Linked DNA regions of Homo sapiens: regions 2, 3, 4, 5, 6 and 7 are each linked to region 1. Evidence: promoter capture Hi-C in 16 types of primary human blood cells and fetal thymus (Javierre and others, 2016). All regions are on one chromosome and are shown on one strand. Each heading gives the region's core, a stretch centred on a gene start or on the middle of the fragment in contact. The rest is flanking DNA. Distances are from core to core; before and after follow the strand shown.

What was found. The method cuts DNA at HindIII sites, captures the fragments that hold promoters and counts their contacts. A CHiCAGO score of 5 or more calls a contact.
Region 2: a contact is called between a fragment that was not itself captured here and the fragment with the promoter of MAGEL2 in region 1, in 2 of 17 cell types (M2 macrophages and naive B cells). The highest score is 9.6, in M2 macrophages.
Region 3: a fragment that was not itself captured here is called in contact with the fragment with the promoter of MAGEL2 in region 1 in 15 of 17 cell types (M1 macrophages, M0 macrophages, M2 macrophages and 12 more); the score reaches 35.9 in M1 macrophages.
Region 4: a fragment that was not itself captured here is called in contact with the fragment with the promoter of MAGEL2 in region 1 in 1 of 17 cell types (M0 macrophages); the score reaches 7.7 in M0 macrophages.
Region 5: a contact is called between a fragment that was not itself captured here and the fragment with the promoter of MAGEL2 in region 1, in 1 of 17 cell types (M0 macrophages). The highest score is 9.9, in M0 macrophages.
Region 6: a fragment that was not itself captured here is called in contact with the fragment with the promoter of MAGEL2 in region 1 in 5 of 17 cell types (M0 macrophages, M1 macrophages, M2 macrophages and 2 more); the score reaches 20.0 in M0 macrophages.
Region 7: a contact is called between a fragment that was not itself captured here and the fragment with the promoter of MAGEL2 in region 1, in 4 of 17 cell types (M1 macrophages, M0 macrophages, monocytes and 1 more). The highest score is 7.8, in M1 macrophages.

The regions. Positions count from the first base shown.
Region 1 is chr15:23,646,598-23,649,138 of GRCh38, reverse strand. MAGEL2 (MAGE family member L2) reads left to right here and starts at 1,272. Exons shown (of 1, transcript NM_019066.5): 1 at 1,272-2,541. The coding sequence starts at 1,397. RefSeq lists an enhancer at 1,985-2,541. The HindIII fragment of the contact is 5,160 bases long and covers 132-2,541 here.
Region 2 is chr15:26,276,728-26,279,268 of GRCh38, reverse strand. No RefSeq gene overlaps it. Among named protein-coding and RNA genes, the nearest start is that of LINC02248, 120 kb to the left of the region's middle. The HindIII fragment of the contact is 2,407 bases long and covers 75-2,481 here.
Region 3 is chr15:26,258,120-26,260,660 of GRCh38, reverse strand. No RefSeq gene overlaps it. Among named protein-coding and RNA genes, the nearest start is that of LINC02248, 140 kb to the left of the region's middle. RefSeq lists an enhancer at 1-293. The HindIII fragment of the contact is 3,403 bases long and covers 1-2,541 here.
Region 4 is chr15:26,187,124-26,189,664 of GRCh38, reverse strand. No RefSeq gene overlaps it. Among named protein-coding and RNA genes, the nearest start is that of LINC00929, 73 kb to the right of the region's middle. The HindIII fragment of the contact is 1,382 bases long and covers 589-1,970 here.
Region 5 is chr15:26,170,022-26,172,562 of GRCh38, reverse strand. No RefSeq gene overlaps it. Among named protein-coding and RNA genes, the nearest start is that of LINC00929, 55 kb to the right of the region's middle. The HindIII fragment of the contact is 2,198 bases long and covers 167-2,364 here.
Region 6 is chr15:25,939,041-25,941,581 of GRCh38, reverse strand. All of the region lies in intron 1 of LINC02346 (long intergenic non-protein coding RNA 2346), which reads right to left. Among named protein-coding and RNA genes, the nearest start is that of LINC02346, 38 kb to the right of the region's middle. The HindIII fragment of the contact is 2,377 bases long and covers 78-2,454 here.
Region 7 is chr15:25,717,822-25,720,362 of GRCh38, reverse strand. It overlaps ATP10A (ATPase phospholipid transporting 10A (putative)), which reads left to right. Exons shown (of 21, transcript NM_024490.4): 8 at 1,964-2,181. Among named protein-coding and RNA genes, the nearest start is that of MIR4715, 130 kb to the left of the region's middle. The HindIII fragment of the contact is 2,094 bases long and covers 226-2,319 here.

The sequences.
Region 1 (2,541 bases), core at 23-2,522:
GTACCCTTCATCGTCCTCATCTGCCCCCTGGTGGCACGTTTTGTCACTCTGGACTCCTGCCGTAGGCTGCCAACAGCCTATTTAAACGAAACATCCTTGATATTTAGTGCTTTGTATATTTCCAGAAAGCTTTTCAATTACTGAGATTATCACTTCCTCTCACCATAAAGTTGTATAGCATTGCCCAATAATACTATTGTCATCTGCTTTATCTGTTAATACTTGATTTGTCTCATATTTAAACTGATTTTTGTCACGAGAAGTTTCCCCAGAAATTTTTTTATTCTTTGCCTGTTTTTCCTATATATCCAAATATATCAATTTTTGATCTATTTATATACCCATTTTGTTATCTTCAGGTGCGTTATTTGGTTTTCATTTTTTAAATTTCTTTCCCATTCTGCAGATGAAAAATACTGAGAAACCTACTCTGTTCCTGCATCCGAGCCATTCCACAGGCAGTTTTCCCATACTAAAAATGCTGTCTTCCACTGATGTGTGGCATGTCTCAGTTCCGTGACTTCTTTTCCTCTCTCTCTACTCGCTGCTGTCCCTTTTCTCCATGTGTCTCTAACATGCCTGTGTTCTTCAAGACCCAGTGCAACCACATTCCCTCCCACAACTCTATTTTCATGAGGAATAGCCAAGCAGGACTCCCAAGACATCATACAGGAGTGCCTACAGGGTATCTCTCCTTGGCAGTCCCACAGCACCGCAAATGCCCTGTGTCTGCCAATACTCATCAGCCTCTCTTCCCGTGTGCCTCTCCTGGGACCCTAAGAGAGTAACAGTCCCTGCAACTTCCCACTTTCTCCAGGCAGGGACTTGTGTGCCTTTTCCATGTCTTTGACTCCTTTATTCAATTATAATACAGGTATCTGTCTGCTATAACTCCTGGAACTCTCTTATGTAAATGCGCTTTTTTCATTCTCCGCCTCACATCTTAGCCCAGACCACACCATCTCCCCCCGCCGTCTTGGATACCTTCCATGTTTCCAGTGGTCTGCTCCCACTCCACACTGCAGTACAGTGATTTTTCTAAAACATGGATGGGTTCCTGTCACTCCCCTGTGAAAAGTCATCCATGTGGAGTCTGACTGGTCTGCATTTGGGGACTGGACAGAGTGAGAAGGGATCCTGTGTCAGCCAGGACTCCGGTAGACGCCCCTATGCAATATCCACTTGTGGTGGTCGGGGGCGGGGAAGGGGCGGGATTGAGCCCCCTTCCCCCCTCCTCCTTACTGCGGAAAGCTGCGGAGCGAGCAGCACTCACTTCCTATTCAGCATTCAGCAGGGAGGGAGCCTCTGAACAGCCACGTAGGCATTCTCTTCTCTCTGGAGGAAAAGGCCCAGCAGCTGTCCGAGGAAAAGACCCACCAGCTGTCAGCAAAGGGACATGTCGCAGCTAAGTAAGAATCTGGGTGACTCGAGTCCTCCGGCGGAGGCCCCGAAGCCGCCTGTCTATAGCCGCCCTACGGTTCTGATGCGGGCCCCGCCCGCTTCCTCCCGGGCTCCGCCAGTCCCTTGGGATCCACCTCCAATTGACTTGCAGGCTTCATTGGCCGCTTGGCAGGCACCTCAGCCTGCCTGGGAGGCCCCACAGGGCCAGCTGCCCGCCCCGGTGGTTCCGATGACCCAGCCTCCTGCCCTAGGGGGCCCGATAGTCCCGGCTCCCCCGCTGGGGGGCCCGATGGGTAAGCCTCCGACTCCCGGGGTCCTGATGGTGCATCCTCCACCTCCGGGAGCCCCGATGGCCCAGCCTCCGACCCCGGGAGTCCTGATGGTGCATCCTTCAGCTCCCGGAGCTCCCATGGCCCATCCTCCTCCTCCGGGGACCCCAATGTCCCACCCTCCCCCTCCGGGGACCCCAATGGCCCATCCTCCTCCTCCGGGGACCCCGATGGCCCATCCTCCTCCTCCGGGGACCCCGATGGTGCATCCTCCTCCTCCGGGGACCCCGATGGCTCATCCTCCCCCTCCGGGGACACCGATGGCTCATCCTCCCCCTCCGGGGACACCGATGGCTCATCCTCCACCTCCGGGGACACCGATGGCTCATCCTCCCCCTCCGGGTACACCGATGGCCCAGCCTCCAGCTCCGGGAGTCCTGATGGCCCAGCCTCTGACTCCGGGAGTCCTGATGGTCCAGCCTGCTGCTCCGGGAGCACCGATGGTCCAGCCGCCTCCAGCAGCCATGATGACCCAGCCTCAGCCTTCAGGAGCACCGATGGCCAAGCCTCCAGGTCCAGGAGTCCTGATGATTCATCCTCCAGGTGCGAGAGCTCCGATGACCCAGCCTCCAGCTTCAGGAGCACCGATGGCACAGCCGGCGGCCCCACCTGCACAGCCGATGGCCCCACCTGCACAGCCGATGGCTTCTTGGGCCCCGCAGGCTCAGCCTCTGATCCTGCAAATCCAGTCTCAAGTTATAAGGGCTCCTCCGCAGGTTCCCCAGGGCCCGCAGGCACCCCCAGCGCAGCTAGCCACACCCCCGGGCTGGCAGGCGACCTCGCCAGGATGGCAGGCCACGCAGCAAGGCTG
Region 2 (2,541 bases), core at 29-2,528, 2.6 Mb before region 1:
CAGACAGATAGACAGATAGATAGATGCAACAAAAACAAAGATAAATAGATGGAACTTAACGAAACTAAAAAGCTTCATTACTCAGCTATAATAAGGAAGGAAATAATGGCATTCACAGCAACCTGGATGGAGTTGGATACCATTATTCTAAGTGAAGTAACTCAGGAATGGAAAACCAAACATTATATGTTCTCACTTATAAGTGGGAGCTAAGCTATGAGAACGCAAAGGCATAACAATTATATAATGGATTCTGGGGATTCGTGGGGAGGGGTGGGAAGTGGAGGAGGGTTAAAAGACTACACATTGGGTCCAGTGTACACTTCTCGGGTGACAGATGCACCAAAATCCCAGAAATCACCATAAAAAACTTATCCATGTAACCAAACAACACCTGTTCCTCAAAAACTATTGACATAAAAAAAATCAAAATCACAGTGAGATGCCACTTCACACTTACTAAGATAAATTAAAAAGACAGGCAATAGCGATTGTTGACAAGGATGTGGAGAAAATGGAAACCTCACACATTGTTGGTGGGACATTAACCTTTGTGGTGACTGTGGAAATAGTTTGACAGCTCCTCCAAAGCTAAACATAGACTCATTATTTGGCCTAGCAATATAGTCAAGAGAATTAAAAACATATGTACACATTAAAACTGGTACCTCAATTTTCATAGCAGTATTATTAATAATAGCCAAAAAGTAGAAACAACCCAAATGTCCATCAACTGAGGAATGGAAAAACAAAATGTGGTATGTCCTTATCATGGAATATTTTTTAGCCATTGAAAAGAATGAAGTACTGATAAATGCTACAATATGGTTGAACTTCAAAACATTATTCTAGGGGTCAGAAGCCGTGCACAAAAGTTCACATATAGTGTGATCCCAGTTACATAAAATGTCCAGAATTTAAAATCTATATAGAGAAAAAGTAACTAGTGGTTTCCAGGGCTGGAGGAAGGGGAGAAGGGGGAATGACTACTAATGGATACAGGGTTTCTTTTTGGAATGATCAAATGTTCTAAAAGTAGTTTATAGTAATGGTTGCACAATTTTTGTAAATATGCTAAAAATATTGAATTGTAGGTCGGGCCTGGTAGCTTACACCTATAATTCCAGTACTTCGGGAGGCCAAAGTGGGTGGATCCCTTGAGGTCAGGAGTTTGAGACTAGCCTGGCCAACATGGTGAAACCCCATCTCCACTAAAAAAAAAAAAAAAAAAAAAATTAGCTGGGTGTGGTGGCACATGCCTGTAATCCAGCTACTTGGGAGGCCGATGCATGAGAAACATTTGAGCCCGGGAGGCAGAGGTTGCAGGGAGCCGAGATCACTCTACTGCACTACAGCCTGGGTGACTGAGCAAGACTCCCTCCAAAAAAAAAAAAAAAAAAAAAATTGAATAGTATACTCTAAATGAATGAACTTTTGTGTATGAAAATTATATCTCAATAAACCTATTTAAAACTGAGTTAACAAAGTGCTTAGATGACCAAGAACTGGCAATTTCTTGAAATGGTAGCTTTAACTACCAGGGCATTATTATAATTCATATCACTATCTGGAAGAAACAAGGTGCTTGTCGTGGAGTTTTTATTTTCTTTTTTCTGAGGCTTTTGCCTGGCAATGCTCCTTCCCTACCACTGTTTTGCAGTCTATACATGCAGGAGGAGCAGCTCTGAGGCACTGACACCCAAGATTACAGACTGATTAAAAGCAGGTGAATTTACAAATCAGTATCACGCAGAGAGAAGGAAGACATGGCATATGCCAGTCTTCCATCTCAAATCCCATCTTACGCAGGGGTGAAGGAGTCCAAGAAGCTCAAGAAGCGGGACTTGAAATACTCAGTTGTCATACTGGAGAATGACATCGGTTCTTCAATGAATGCAAAAACAAGATTTCTTCTAGCATTGGTAAATGGATTGAGACCCAGTTAAAGCTGTTGGCTTATATATAGATGCAACCGAAATTGCATATCTATAAACGTTAAAACTGTTGCCAGCATGATGTTCTATGATGTTCACATCCCATGAGATGAGCCAAGAGAACTGCAGAGTATATAAGTGATAGAGAAAACAAAGTATTAAACAAAGTATTTAAACAAATACAAGATGATTTCTCTGTCAAATAAATGTCCAACCCTGGGTGGGCACTCTATGACAATCATATATTCCATATATATATATCTATATATCTATATATCTATATATATATATATATATATGCCTATATATATAATAGGCCTATATAGGCCATATGCCTATTTTATATATATAGGCATATATATATGGCCTATATAGGCCTATATATAGACATATATATTATATAATTATATTATATATATATAATTTTAGAACTCCTGAGGACTCCTCTCTCTTTCAGATGACAGCATGAGCCCTCCCTCCTCTACCTCTCCTTCCTGCGTCTACTCACACCTTCCAGGACATGCACTTTCCTTTACATTGGCAAGCTTATTCTTTTTTTTTTTTTTTTTTTTTAAGACAGGGTCTCACTCTGTGGCCCAGGCTGGAG
Region 3 (2,541 bases), core at 31-2,530, 2.6 Mb before region 1:
AGGAGGGGGTCCTCCTGGCCTTCTTATGGGAAGTTGCGTGTTTCAGGGAAGACAAATAGAGGCTCTCTCTGTGCCCACCACGTTTGGCAGCCAAGGAGGCCCCTTCTCTTTGGACCATTTCCCTTCCTGCAGCAGTTGGTCTCTGAGGCCACTGCCCTTGCTGCCCGTGGTGGAACGCATGCTCTCAGGCAGCTTTTCTGGACCTCACTTCTGCTGCTCCTGGGAAGTGCCCTCTCATAGGGTTGCCAGATAAAATATGGGATGCCCAATTGAATCTGAATTCAAGATAAGTAGCAATAACGCTTTGGTATCAGTGGGTCCCAGATGTTGCATGGGCGATACCACCTCTGGGTGCCTACACAGTGGGGCTGGGCCCCCCCATTGACTTCGCCCAACACTTGGGATCCTGCCTGGCGCTGGGAGCCAGAGCTTGTCTAGATGCACTGTCTATCATGACCAAGTCAGTACTAGGATGTTTCTGGACCCCAGCTTGGTCCTGGTGAAGCTCCATGATGACAACCTGCCTTCTGCTAACCACTCTGCTCACTTTGCAATCTCTAATCCGTTTTGTGGATCCAGTCTCAAGCCACGCCACTGGGCCTGAGGGAAAGAGTGGAGTGGTGGTCTCAAGATGAACACACAACAGACCCGAGACTTAGTTCCATCTTGTGAAAGCCTGTTCTAGAGGGGTTGAGAAATAGAGTTGTCGTGGTTGTTTTTAATGCCTGGAATGCATCAGGTTTAATTTAAAGATCAAAAATACAGTTATATTTTACATTCTTAAATCCTGAAGAAAAATGTGCTCTACCCAATTGCTTTCAGCTATGACTGCAAGTGGTGACATTCTGCTGGTGGCATTCAGAGTTCTATCTTTGAATGCCATGGTAATCACTTGCTTCCCTTCAAGTCTGTCGTGTCTGGCATGAAATTTAAGAATTTAAAATACCAGATCAGCAGGCTCACACCCAACAGACATGGCACATCTAAATATGCAGTTAATGACTACCCAAGGGGGCTATTTCAATGTAAAAAGTGAGGCAAGTAGTGACTGACAGTAAGACAAAAACAAAAACAAATTAAAAATCTAAACTAGATAAACTAGAAATAAGTACTTTAACAGAATGGTACTAGTGTTCAAGGTTATAGATCAGAAATTTGATCACCATTGTTCTACTCTTTGCTTCTAGGATATCAACTTTAAGAATTTTTTTTTTTTTAGATTCTACATATAAGTGAGATCCTGCAGTATTTGTCTTTCTGTGACTGGGAAGGGGGATGGGGAGGACAGAGAGAGGTTGACAAATGGATACAAAGTTACAGTTAGGAGGAAGAAGTTCTGGTATCTTATTGCATAGTTGGATGAGAATGATTAACAGTAAGATACCATAGATTACAAAATAGCTGAAGAGAGACTTTTGAATGTTCCCACCACCAAGAAATGACAAATGCAGGCCGGGCGCCGTGGCTCACGCCTGTAATCCCAGCACTTTGGGAGGCCAAGGTGGGTGGATCACGAGGTCAGGAGATCGAGACCATCCTGGCTAACACGGTGAAACCTCGTCTCTACTAAAAACACAAAAATTAGCTGGGTGTGGTGGCACATGCCTGTAATCCCAGCTACTCAGCAGGCTGAGGCAGGAGAATCGTTTGAACCAGGGAGTCAGAGGTTTCAGTGAGCTGAGATCACGCCACAGCACTCCAGCCTGGTGACGGAGTGAGACTCTGTCTCAAAAAAAAAAAAAAAAAAAAAAAAAGGACAAATGCATGAAGCGATGGACATGCTAAATACTCTGATTTAATCCTTATACAACGTATATATGTATTGGAACATCAAATTAGAGCCCATAAATATGTACAATAACAATGTATCAATTAAACAATTAATCAATTAATTAAGAAACAAATTTGAGATTCCCCTACTTATGATGTGCACAGGTTGGATAAATTCAGCTCTCTCTGGCTTGCTCAGGGAAGATGCCCAACCAGATCAAGAATCTTCAGGCAGCCCTCAGCTCCAAGGATGTGAAGCATCGGGCAAGCTCTGGGAGAAGGAGTTCTGCTGCCTTGATTGTTTTGCACCATCCCCAGTATGCACATGGCACAGAGTAGATGCTCAATTAGTGTTTGTTGAATTAATCCATTGACTTAAATTTAAAAGTGGAAGGCTGGGCATGGTGGCTCACGCCTGTACTCCCAGCACTTTGTGAGGCCGAGATGGGCGGATCATGAGGTCAGGAGATCGAGACCATCCTGGCTAACATGGTGAAACCCCATCTCTACTAAAAATACCAAAAATTAGCCAGGCGTGGTGGTGGGCGCCTGTAGTCCCAGCTACTCAGGAGGCTGAGGCAGGAGAATGGCATGAACCCAGGAGGCGGAGCTTGCAGTGAGCCGAGATCATACCACTGCACTCCAGCCTGGGTGACAGAGTGAGACTCCATCTCAAAAAAAAAAAAAAAGTGGAAGATTATACACACAAACACACACACACACATATATATATGGAAAAATCTTCCCCCCAGTGTTGATTACAAAATCAAC
Region 4 (2,541 bases), core at 30-2,529, 2.5 Mb before region 1:
AAGAACCATGGGTTCTGTAATTGCTGCTTACAGGATAATTAAGAGCTTAATATTATAAAAGTTAATTATAAAATTATATTAATTAATTCTAATAGCCCAACGATCCTTCTGGAATTGATGTCTGAGAAGAACAAAGTCCCCAGAGAGGTCCACAGGGAAAAGGTCGAGTCAGACAGAAGTTTTCAGGCCCAGAGCTGTGCCTGCTTTGTTCTGAGCTCTAGTTTGGGAAACACAGGAAGAAACGAAGAGGGACACATAGTGACAGGGACCCTTGGGCTCCTGGGGGTGGTGGCAGGAGCACATGAGTGACAGCTGTTTCCAAATATGGACCGATGACAAGATGCTTCCAAGAGCCAAAAGGTAGGCCTTATTAGTACTTTGTAAACTTTCTCAGGCTTACATTATACAAGGGGTAATTTTTAAAAATAATCATCATGATCTTTTCTAAATGAAAAATTTGATGATGCATTTACTATCCAAATTACTGTAATAATGAACTGCCTTCTAGTCAATTTCTAGTGTAATTGGGGGATCTATGGCATAAAGCTTAAGACTTAGACACAATTCTCCTCCTCTCTGTCACAAGCTTCAAGCCTGATATTTTCCTGGCAACTCAAAGCCTTCTTGTAATATTGTCAGCAGTATGTCTTCCTCCCCAAAATTTATAAAAAGTGGTTGTGTTTGGATTTGTTTTTCTTACAGATTAGGAAAGATCTTTTCATCTTTCAAGTGAAAAAGATATCTGCTAGCAAGAATAATGAGGATTTGAGAAATCATTGTGGAAAAAGAAGATTTGTTTATACGAAGCCAGTGACTTTGGCCTGACTGTCATATGTAAGCACATCTGACAGAAGCAAAGGCAAACCTAATAATCCAATGATTACACCCCGAGCCCATGTAATTTGAGAAGTGAGCATCTTGGGGGTAGTTTAAATCAGGGGCTTTGGTGAAAGGCAGATCTTCTTCTTCATTTTTTTTTTTTTTTTAATTTTACTTTTAGAAAACCCTGCAGAACATGCAGGTTTGTTACACAGCTAAATGTGTGCCATGGTTGTTTGCTGCACCTATCAACCTGTCACCGAGGTACTAAGCCCCGCATTCATTAGCTATTTTTCCTAATGCTCTCCCTCCACTAGCCCCCACAACCGACAGGCTCTGATATGTGTTGTTCCCCTCCCTGTGTCCATGTGTCCTCATTGTTCAGCTCCCACTTATGAGTGAGAATATGCGGTGTTTGGTTTTTTTGTTCCTGTGTTATTTTGCTGAGATGGTTTCCAGCTTTATCCTTGTCCCTTCAGAAGACATGATCTCATTCCTTTTTGACTGCATAGTATTCCATGGTGTATATGTGCCACATTTTCTTTATGTAGTCTATCATTGATGGGCATTTGGGTTGGTTCCATGTCTTTGCTATTATGAATAGTGCTGCAATAAACATACATGTGCATGTATCTTTATACTAGAATGATTTATATTCCTTTGGGTGTATACCCAGTAATGGGATTGCTGGGTCAAATGATATTTCTGGTTCCAGATCTTTGAGGAATCACCACACTGACAGTATAAAAGTGTTCCTGTTTCTCCACAGCCTCGCCAGCATCTGTTGTTTCTTGACTTTTTAATAATTGCCATTCTGACTGGCATGAGATGGTATCTCATGGTGGTTTTGATTTGCATTTCTCTAATGATCAGTGATGTTGACCTTTCTTTCATATGTTTGTTGGCCACATAAATGTCTTCTTTTGAGAAGTTTCTGTTTATGTAGAAAGGCAGATCTTCTTTCCCCACTATGGGACCTTGGGTTGATGTGTCTGTGGTTCCCATGACAACTCTCAGATTTGATGATTTACTGGAAGGACTCACAGGACTCAGGAGAGTTATAGTTTGTGACTGTGAAAGGACACAGATTAAAATCAGCAAAGAGAAAAGGCACACAGGGAAAGGTCTGAGAGAAAAAAAAGACACAAGCTTCAAGTTGTCTACCCCCAGTGGAGTTGCATGACAAGTGCTTAATGCCCTAGGAATGGTGTGTGACACACCTGCGAGGTGTTGCCATCCAGGGAAGCTCGCCTGGGCCTTTGGTGTCCAGGGTTTTTACTGGGGGTTCGTCATGTAGGCAGGCAGTGTCTTGATAGCTGACCTTAGCTACTGACTCTCCAGCCCCACCAAGGTCCAGCTGATAGAGCACGGCCCAAAGCCCCAAGCGTACAACAAGGGAGCATCATAAGTCACACTGATAGCACAAACTATCTGAGCAAGCTGGTATAGCATGGCCCAAACCTCCGTCACACAAACATTTCTATCAGGCCTCAGACGTCATCATGCAGGAGCCCTTCAACAGCCAGTCCTTTGTCTGGAATAGTGTAAGGTTTGAGCACCAAAGCCTGCTGAGTTAACCTTTTACTGTACGATTACTCTGCCTCACTGGAACTTGATTTTCTTCTCAGAAAAACTACAGCGATAAAAAGATCTTTGTGATAACTCAAAAGATTACCCTGAAGATAAAATATATGTAACATGTTCAGAATAATGCCTGACTTA
Region 5 (2,541 bases), core at 16-2,515, 2.5 Mb before region 1:
TTATAGTTTAACTTTTTAAAGAAAAGATAGTAATAGTCTTTTTTCCAACATTAACCCCCTGAGGACATAAGAAAATATGTACACAATTAATGATGCCAAAGATTTATAGGAACACGGTGACCTGACTGACATTATCTGAAGTCAACTGACCAAGAATAAAGAAGCTTTACAACCTCCTCGGACCCTTGCTGCTACCCAGATGTCTGTGGTTATTGGTCCCCTCTTGGTCTCAATCCCCTCCCTCTTCTGCCTTCTACTAACGTAAAAGGAGCCTAAAATTCTATTAACTTGAGATGGTTCTTTAGGACACTAGTCTGCCATCTCCTTGCTTCGCTGCTCTATGAATAAAGTTACCTTTCTTGCCCCAGCACCTTGTTTCTGTACTTATTGGCTGCTGCACAGTGTACTGTAGGAGCTTGGATTGGGCTACACTAAGAGGGAGATAAGCAGATGAAGGGTAAAGTCCAGAATGGGGAAATTGAACATAACTGAAAAAAAATGCACCATCCTTAGCTTCCCGAGGCTCACAATGGTATGCAGGGCTCAGTTTGAGTGTGTTGATGGGAAGCAGTTGCTTGGCTGTGAAAAACGGAAACAATCTTTGGTCATGCTCATTCCCATCCTCAGTCCTGGATTTGGCTGCTATGTGCATGATCCGTCATGGCAGTGATGGTGGAAGAGACAGGGAGGGATACTTGATCTGTAAGAGCACGGTTTGCCTTTTCTCTGAATTGGTCCTTCCCAGCGACTCACAGTGGCAAGCAACGGGCTGGATAATGGGGTTTTCTTTACACAGAAGCGAAGTCTGATCTCACCACCCGTAATGCTTCACCATTACCTAAAGTAGATTATTTCTGCTGAATTCACCACTGAACTGTGAACCTTAAAGATAACCAAAAATATTTCACTCCAAAACATCCTACTTTGACATCTTTCGAAATGGTTATTCAAAAAAACGTGTGTGGTGAAACAACCAGCCAGGCTTTCTCTGCATGCCACCCCTTGTCCAAATCTAGGAAAGATTAACTCCAACTCAGGTAACCCTCCATTCTCTCCCAGGGCAGCTCTGACATTACCTGAGACACTTCATCTGCATAACAAGATAGCTTTGGTTTGCTAGGCTTTCCTCCCTTCATCCTCCGATAACCTGTGATGCCACCTCCCCCAGAGCCCAGGGAAACTTGGTCCCATGACATTGTTCTTTAGCTCTTTCATTTTCCCTGAAAATATTCACTCCTATAAGCCCCCATATTCCCTCTCCCCAATGAAGAGGATGTTTAAGTGACAACCATCTTGTCTTTCTTTATGTTTCTATACTTTTTATGCTTCCCATGCACACATGTGCATGTTAATAAATTTGTATGCCTTTCTTCCTATTAACCTGTCTATTATCAGTTTGTTTTATAGACTCAAATGATCGAATTTTCAGGGGAAAAATTTAAACTTCCTTACAACCACAACTGCAACAATGACTATGAAGCTAACATTTTCTACACCATAAAATCCGTATGAAAATCTTTGACTTGCAAGTATTTAGCATTTGCTTGAGTGAACCACATAAATCTCAGCCATAAGGATAATCTCTCAGAGCATCATCAGAAAGATAATGGTGGGTTACAATGAAGATGCAGCATCCGACTAAGGTTTCACAATAAAATGTAAAACATTCAGAGATAGCCCTTCATGCAATGAGAGTGCTGAATAATAACAATGATCTCATTTAAATTTATGTATCGGATAATGAAATGAAATGGCCCCATCATTTCCAGAGGAATCTGTAGAAATCACTGGTTTCATTATTTCATGTCCTGTGCTCTAGAGCTCACCTGGCGTGTAAATGGTCTCATTTATATCCTGTGTTCCTTCCACATCCCTTACACTCTCATCGCCATAGTCACTAATGTACTTTAATGAGAGCAAAGCATGGGGAGACTCAAATGAACCAATAAAAATAGAAGGGATAAAGTATTATTAGGTGGAATGAATACAAAACTAAACTTATGCTATGTGAAGTGCTGTTGATTTTATTGATGCAGGCTTACAAAGGCATGCCAAATTCATGCTTTAGCTGCCCATGAATAATGGCAATAGCAAATCATTTTCTCTAATAAGACATCACTACCATCTTTTCTTCAGGGTCCAAGTTTCCAAATTAATAACCATTTTTATTAATTTTCTTGGATGAAGCGACTACAGTTAGAAATAGTTTCTCCCTCCGGTCCCCATTTATTTCCTACACACAGACTTATGAAGTCAGACATAATTCTAACATTGTTATATAATCAGATTTATCTGTCTGGCAGTGGCAGAGTTTGGGGGCATTTTTTTTTTTTTTTTTTTTTTTTACCAATTTACATGCAAGCTTTAAAAGGGGAAAATTTAAATTTTTAAATGAGGCATAAAAGTGGAAGCAAAAGTTAGTTTCAGTAAACAGCAGAGAGCTGAAAAAAAGTGAAAAATTGGTTTCCTTAAGGGGAATACAGTAAACGACAGGAAACAAGAGGAGAGGAAGACGTGAGAGGAGAGAGCGATGGAGAGGCC
Region 6 (2,541 bases), core at 17-2,516, 2.3 Mb before region 1:
GCTTCCAGATCCCACGATCTCTGCATCATCCCAAAGAGAAACACACTTGACAGGACACCCTACCATCAAATCAAGCTTGTGTTTTTCAGATATTTTTGACCAACACCTACATCATAGGAAATATACTTAAAATTGTAACCCAATACATGTGCGCATGCATACACACACACACAGACCACGCACTTGAAGCTAAAGTTTCACAAAAAATACCTGATATGATGTGCTATAGGCCGAATTATGTCCCTCCTGCAAAATTCATATGTTGAAGCCCCGACCCCCAGGACCTCAGCATGTTCCCTCATTTGGAGAGGGGGGTCTTCATAGAGGTAAGTTGAAATGAACTCATATGGGTGGGCCTTAATCCGGTAGGACTGGTGTCTTTATAAGAAGTGGAGATGAGGACAGACAGATGCAGGGGAATGACCATCAGAGGACACAGGGGGAAGGCATCTTGCTGTCTACAAGCCAGGGAGAAGGCCTCGGAAGGAACCAACCCTGCAGGCACCTTGATGTTGAATCTACAGGCTTCAGAACAGTGAGACAATCCATTTCTGTTGTGTAAGCCCTCCAGTCTATGGGACTTTGTTACAGCAGCCCTAGCAAACCTAATGCATGGTGCATTCCAATAGTTTCTACTCTATTCCTTTTGTTTCTTCTTTAATGCTGTTTGAAACAAAATCGATTCTAGGATCACAAATAGACCACACATGCAGGTTGAAGAACTGAGAGCAGTCTAAGATCCATTTTCTACACCAGTAATTGAACACGTGTTACTAATAGCTTCAGAAATGAAAAAGTCTATATACGTATATATATCCAAAACAGAGAATCACCTTGAGGGAGGGAGTCTAAATATAATGGCTTTAACAGAGGAAATGAATTTCTCCAATCATCCCTGACACAAACATAATGAATGATACCTTCCAACGCTCTTTGAAAAAGTAAATGAACTCGAGTTTAAGGAGAGTAAAGCAATTTTTCCAGCTCTTTCTGAAGCAATGATCAAGAAAGGTCTTGGTATTTCCATGTCACGCTGCAGAGAAGAAAGCCAGGAGTCAGCCAGGATCGAGCCACTAGGCTTGTGCTGTCCATTCTGAAAATTTTGGGAAAGAAGAGTGGGTACCTCTGGGGCTGGGAGAAATCTCTTCTCTACCAGAAAGGCAAGAAATTATGCCAAGCGGGGTGTGGTGGCTCATGCTTGTAATACTAAAACTCTGGGAGGCTGAGGTGGGAGGATTGCTTGAGCTCAGGAGTTTATCAGCCTGGGCAACATAGTAAAAACCTGTCTCTACAATTTTTTTTTTTAGTTAGCCAGGCTTGGTAGTGTGTGCCTGTGATCCCAGCTACTCAGGGGGCTGAGGTGGGAGGATTGCCAGGAAGTCAAGGCTGCAGTGAGCTGTGATTGTGCCTCGGCACTCCAGCCTGGGTGACAGAGTGACAAATTGTACCCAAATCACGTGAAAACTTACAGTATTTCTAAGAGTAGAGTATTGGCAAAATGACACAGTCCTGCTTCCAGGAATGCTAGAAAACCATGATCTTGGAGTAAATATCATCGTCATCCTCCGCATCACATACTGCATGTAATGGGAGGGATTAGAATAGTCATGAGAATATGTGTCTGGAATTTCACAGCTTAGTAAACACGTCCCACAGATAGTATGTTGAAGCCTATTGGCTCTTTCATGAGTCGGGTGTTGGTGCACAGAGGGTCCAGGCCTGGAGAATGGGGAGCGGGCCCCATGCTCTGGAGCCAGGTGGGTGTGAGGGCCTGGGCCACATGGTGGGTGCACCCTATCCTAGCCCAAACCCGCGGTGAGCCTCTACTTCCTGGGGCTCACTTTGTACTGAGGGCAAGATAACATTGCTTCAAGCTGCAGTGAGAAGTAAATATATTAGTCCTGGGAAGCACTTAGAATGGTGCACAGCCCCCACCCCCACCCCATCTAACCCCCACTGCCCCTGTCCCTCCTTCCGCCCCACCCCACTGTTTCTGTCCCGGGGTGTCAGTCTTTATTATTTGAACACGAAACACCCAAGGCCCTTGTGAAAATGCAGGTTCTGTTTCAGCGCCTGGGGTGAGGCCTGAGATTGCACTTTCTTAACCAGCTCCCAGGTGATGCTAAGGACACTGGCCTGTGGGCCTTGTTTTGGGTAGCAAGTATCTAGAACATGCAACAGAAACTGCTTGTTCCTCAGAGACAGAAGAGGTTGAGTATGGTTAACCATTTTTACATATGTGTTTTTTTAAAAAACACGCTTGGATGCCACCGTGCAGGAAGTACAAACCAAGGGCTGGGTCAAACCTCCTGGCCAGGCAGCTTGGACAGAAACATAATGAGAAGCATCTGGGCTTCATGCAGCTGTGACTGAGGGGACTCTCTGAGCCCTCACTTCCAGGGCTGCAGGTCATGCACCCAGCCCAACCGCAGCTTCTGCTCAGCTGGTGAAGCTTACAGGCTGTGAAAGTTAGTGAAATGCTTTGTGTTCAATCGCCTGGGGTAGGCTTCAGGTATCCAAACTGGGGTCGGGGGGGGGGGG
Region 7 (2,541 bases), core at 23-2,522, 2.1 Mb before region 1:
ATGTATTACACATTTCAAAACGACTCAGAGAGTAAATTTTAACTGTCTCATCATAAAAACATGATAGGCAAGCAAAGTGACAGATTTGTTAATTAGCATGATTTAATCATGCCACATTGTACACATACATCAGAACATCACATTGCACCCCATGAATGTATACAGTACTGATTTATCCATTAATAATAATAATACATTTAAAAGATAATAATAAAGTTGGAAGCTTAGGCTCCCAGGGGCAGGATCCCAACTAAGATTACAGAAAGATTCTGACAGTTGCCAAATGCTACCATAAAACCAGAGGGTTTCCTTGCCTCAAGACACAGGGAGCTTCCTGGTGATGAATGAAACCACATACATCTCAGCAGCGTGTTTTAGAGAAGTGCCTGGATCAGCTAGCTATTGACAGGCACCCAGGCAAGGAGCGTCATCAGCCAGTTATCTTATGATCTGACCTCTCCAGATGTCACTCATAAAGGAGTTCAGATGGACTCTGAGCCCCAAGCCCTGCTCACGTACCAGAACCGGCTGTGGAAGCCTTGGGTGTGCCCCCTCTGACAGCTTGGCAAGATGACCTGGAGCTAGCTGGCTGTGCATGCCCAGGAGGGGGCATTACCTGCTCCTGGGCCTCATCTTTCCTGGGGACATGGAAGGCATCCCAGGGGCCACTGCCGATCAGAAACTGCTTCAGAACACCAACATACCAGCCGTGGCCCCCACAGCCTCTGAGGGAAGGAGGGGGCCCTGAAGGATGGCTCCATGGAGCTCCGGATGTGCGGGACCACTGCTGGGGGAGGGTGGGATGGGCCAGTCCACTTTCTTGGCAGCTGAAGCCCAGCCCCTCACCTCATGCTGGACAGAGTCATGTGTCCAGGTTCTGTGCGTCCTTGCTTCCGGTGCACTGGGCTGATGCCACCCGAGAGCTGGGGAGGCATTTGCGGGGCATCTGCTCCTGGAATTAGGATCTCCCTGAGTTGGAATCCTGGCATTGGCAAGTACTCAGCCTTGTGATGGTGGGCAGGTGACTTCCCCTTTTTTATCCCCATTTTTCTCATCTCTCACAGAGGGTCTATTAAGAGATGCGCAGTGGTCCACGCGGCTGGCCGGCTCCATAAGTATCTCCTTCTCCGGCCTCTTGACAGGCCCCTGCTGCTTTGACTCAGCACCATGCCTGTGCTTGAAGTTCTGATTAAACGGTTGTTCTGATAAGTAATCCTCATGAATGGTCTCCATTTTGCTCATCCACGGTGAAACAAGCTGTCCTCCCTGGGCAAAACCCAGAAAACTGGTTCAGAGCCATGGGTTAGCAAGAAGCCACAGCGCAGGCACCTCTAAAGGGGATTTGCCCAGCGTTCACCAGGTCATGGGGAATTTGCTCAGCAGGGCAACATCACAGTCAAGATCATCTTGGATGGAGTTTCAAAGCTGAGTCCAAACCCTAGCTGTAGGGGTCCAAGCTGTGCAATCTGGGAGTGTGAGCCCCCCTGTGCCATAGCATTTCATCCAGACAGGAGCAGATGGTGGCCACCGTCCATGTGGGCAAGGAGCTCAGCACCAGGTGAGCACCGTCATCCCAGCATGACTGGAAGGCCTGCCACCCTCTGTCCTGCCTCCCTCTCCCGGCCACCTGCCACCCTACCCCATGTACACCTAGGCTCTACCTGAAGAGACCGGCTGGACGTCAACCCGTTCCCCTTCCCCTAAGTTGTGCGACCTTAGAAAGCTCCTTACGTTCTCTGAGATGAAAGTCAGTCTCTGTGAAACAGAGTTGAGAATATCAACCTCCCCAGGTTGCAGCTGACTGAGGATGTTCTCCGTGCCTTGCTATTAGAGAGCAAGGGTGGTGAATCCTGTGGGGCTGCCCTGCCGGAAGCCTCGCGGAACCTAAAACACACTGAATGGTTTCTTTCTGCTCCGCCCAGCCTTCCCCCATGATGCCTCACCCTGCGCCCTCTCCCCGCAGCGCAGCGTCTGGCCAGGTACCAAGAGGCAGACTCGGAGGAGGAGGAGGTGGTGCCCAGAGGGGGCTCGGTGTCCCAGCGCGGCAGCATCGGCAGCCACCAGAGTGTCCGGGTGGTGCACAGAACCCAGAGCACCAAGTCCCACCGGCGCACGGGCAGCCGGGCCGAGGCCAAGAGGGCCAGCATGCTGTCCAAGCACACGGCCTTCAGCAGCCCCATGGTGAGTGTACAGGGCCTCCTGCTAGGGTGCTGCCACGTCTCTTCCCCATTTTCACCATCCCCCGCTCATGGAAGGTGTCTATATTTAATCCTACAAATACACTGTCGCTGGGCGGCTTGGCTCTACTCAGCAGAAGCTTTTCTGGCCAACACTTTCTCTCCACTGTCGTCTTTTCCAAGACACTGACATGGCCCCTTTGCATGGCTTCTAAGGCTGGTTGATTGCTGGCAAGTCACCCAGAAAGGGTGACAAAGAGGAAGCCCGTGCTGCCAAATGAAGCAAATAAAACCTCAGGACAAGATGACAACCGCTAAAAAGCAAAGCCAACCCCTCCCAAGGGAGTTTTAATTAGACGAGCCC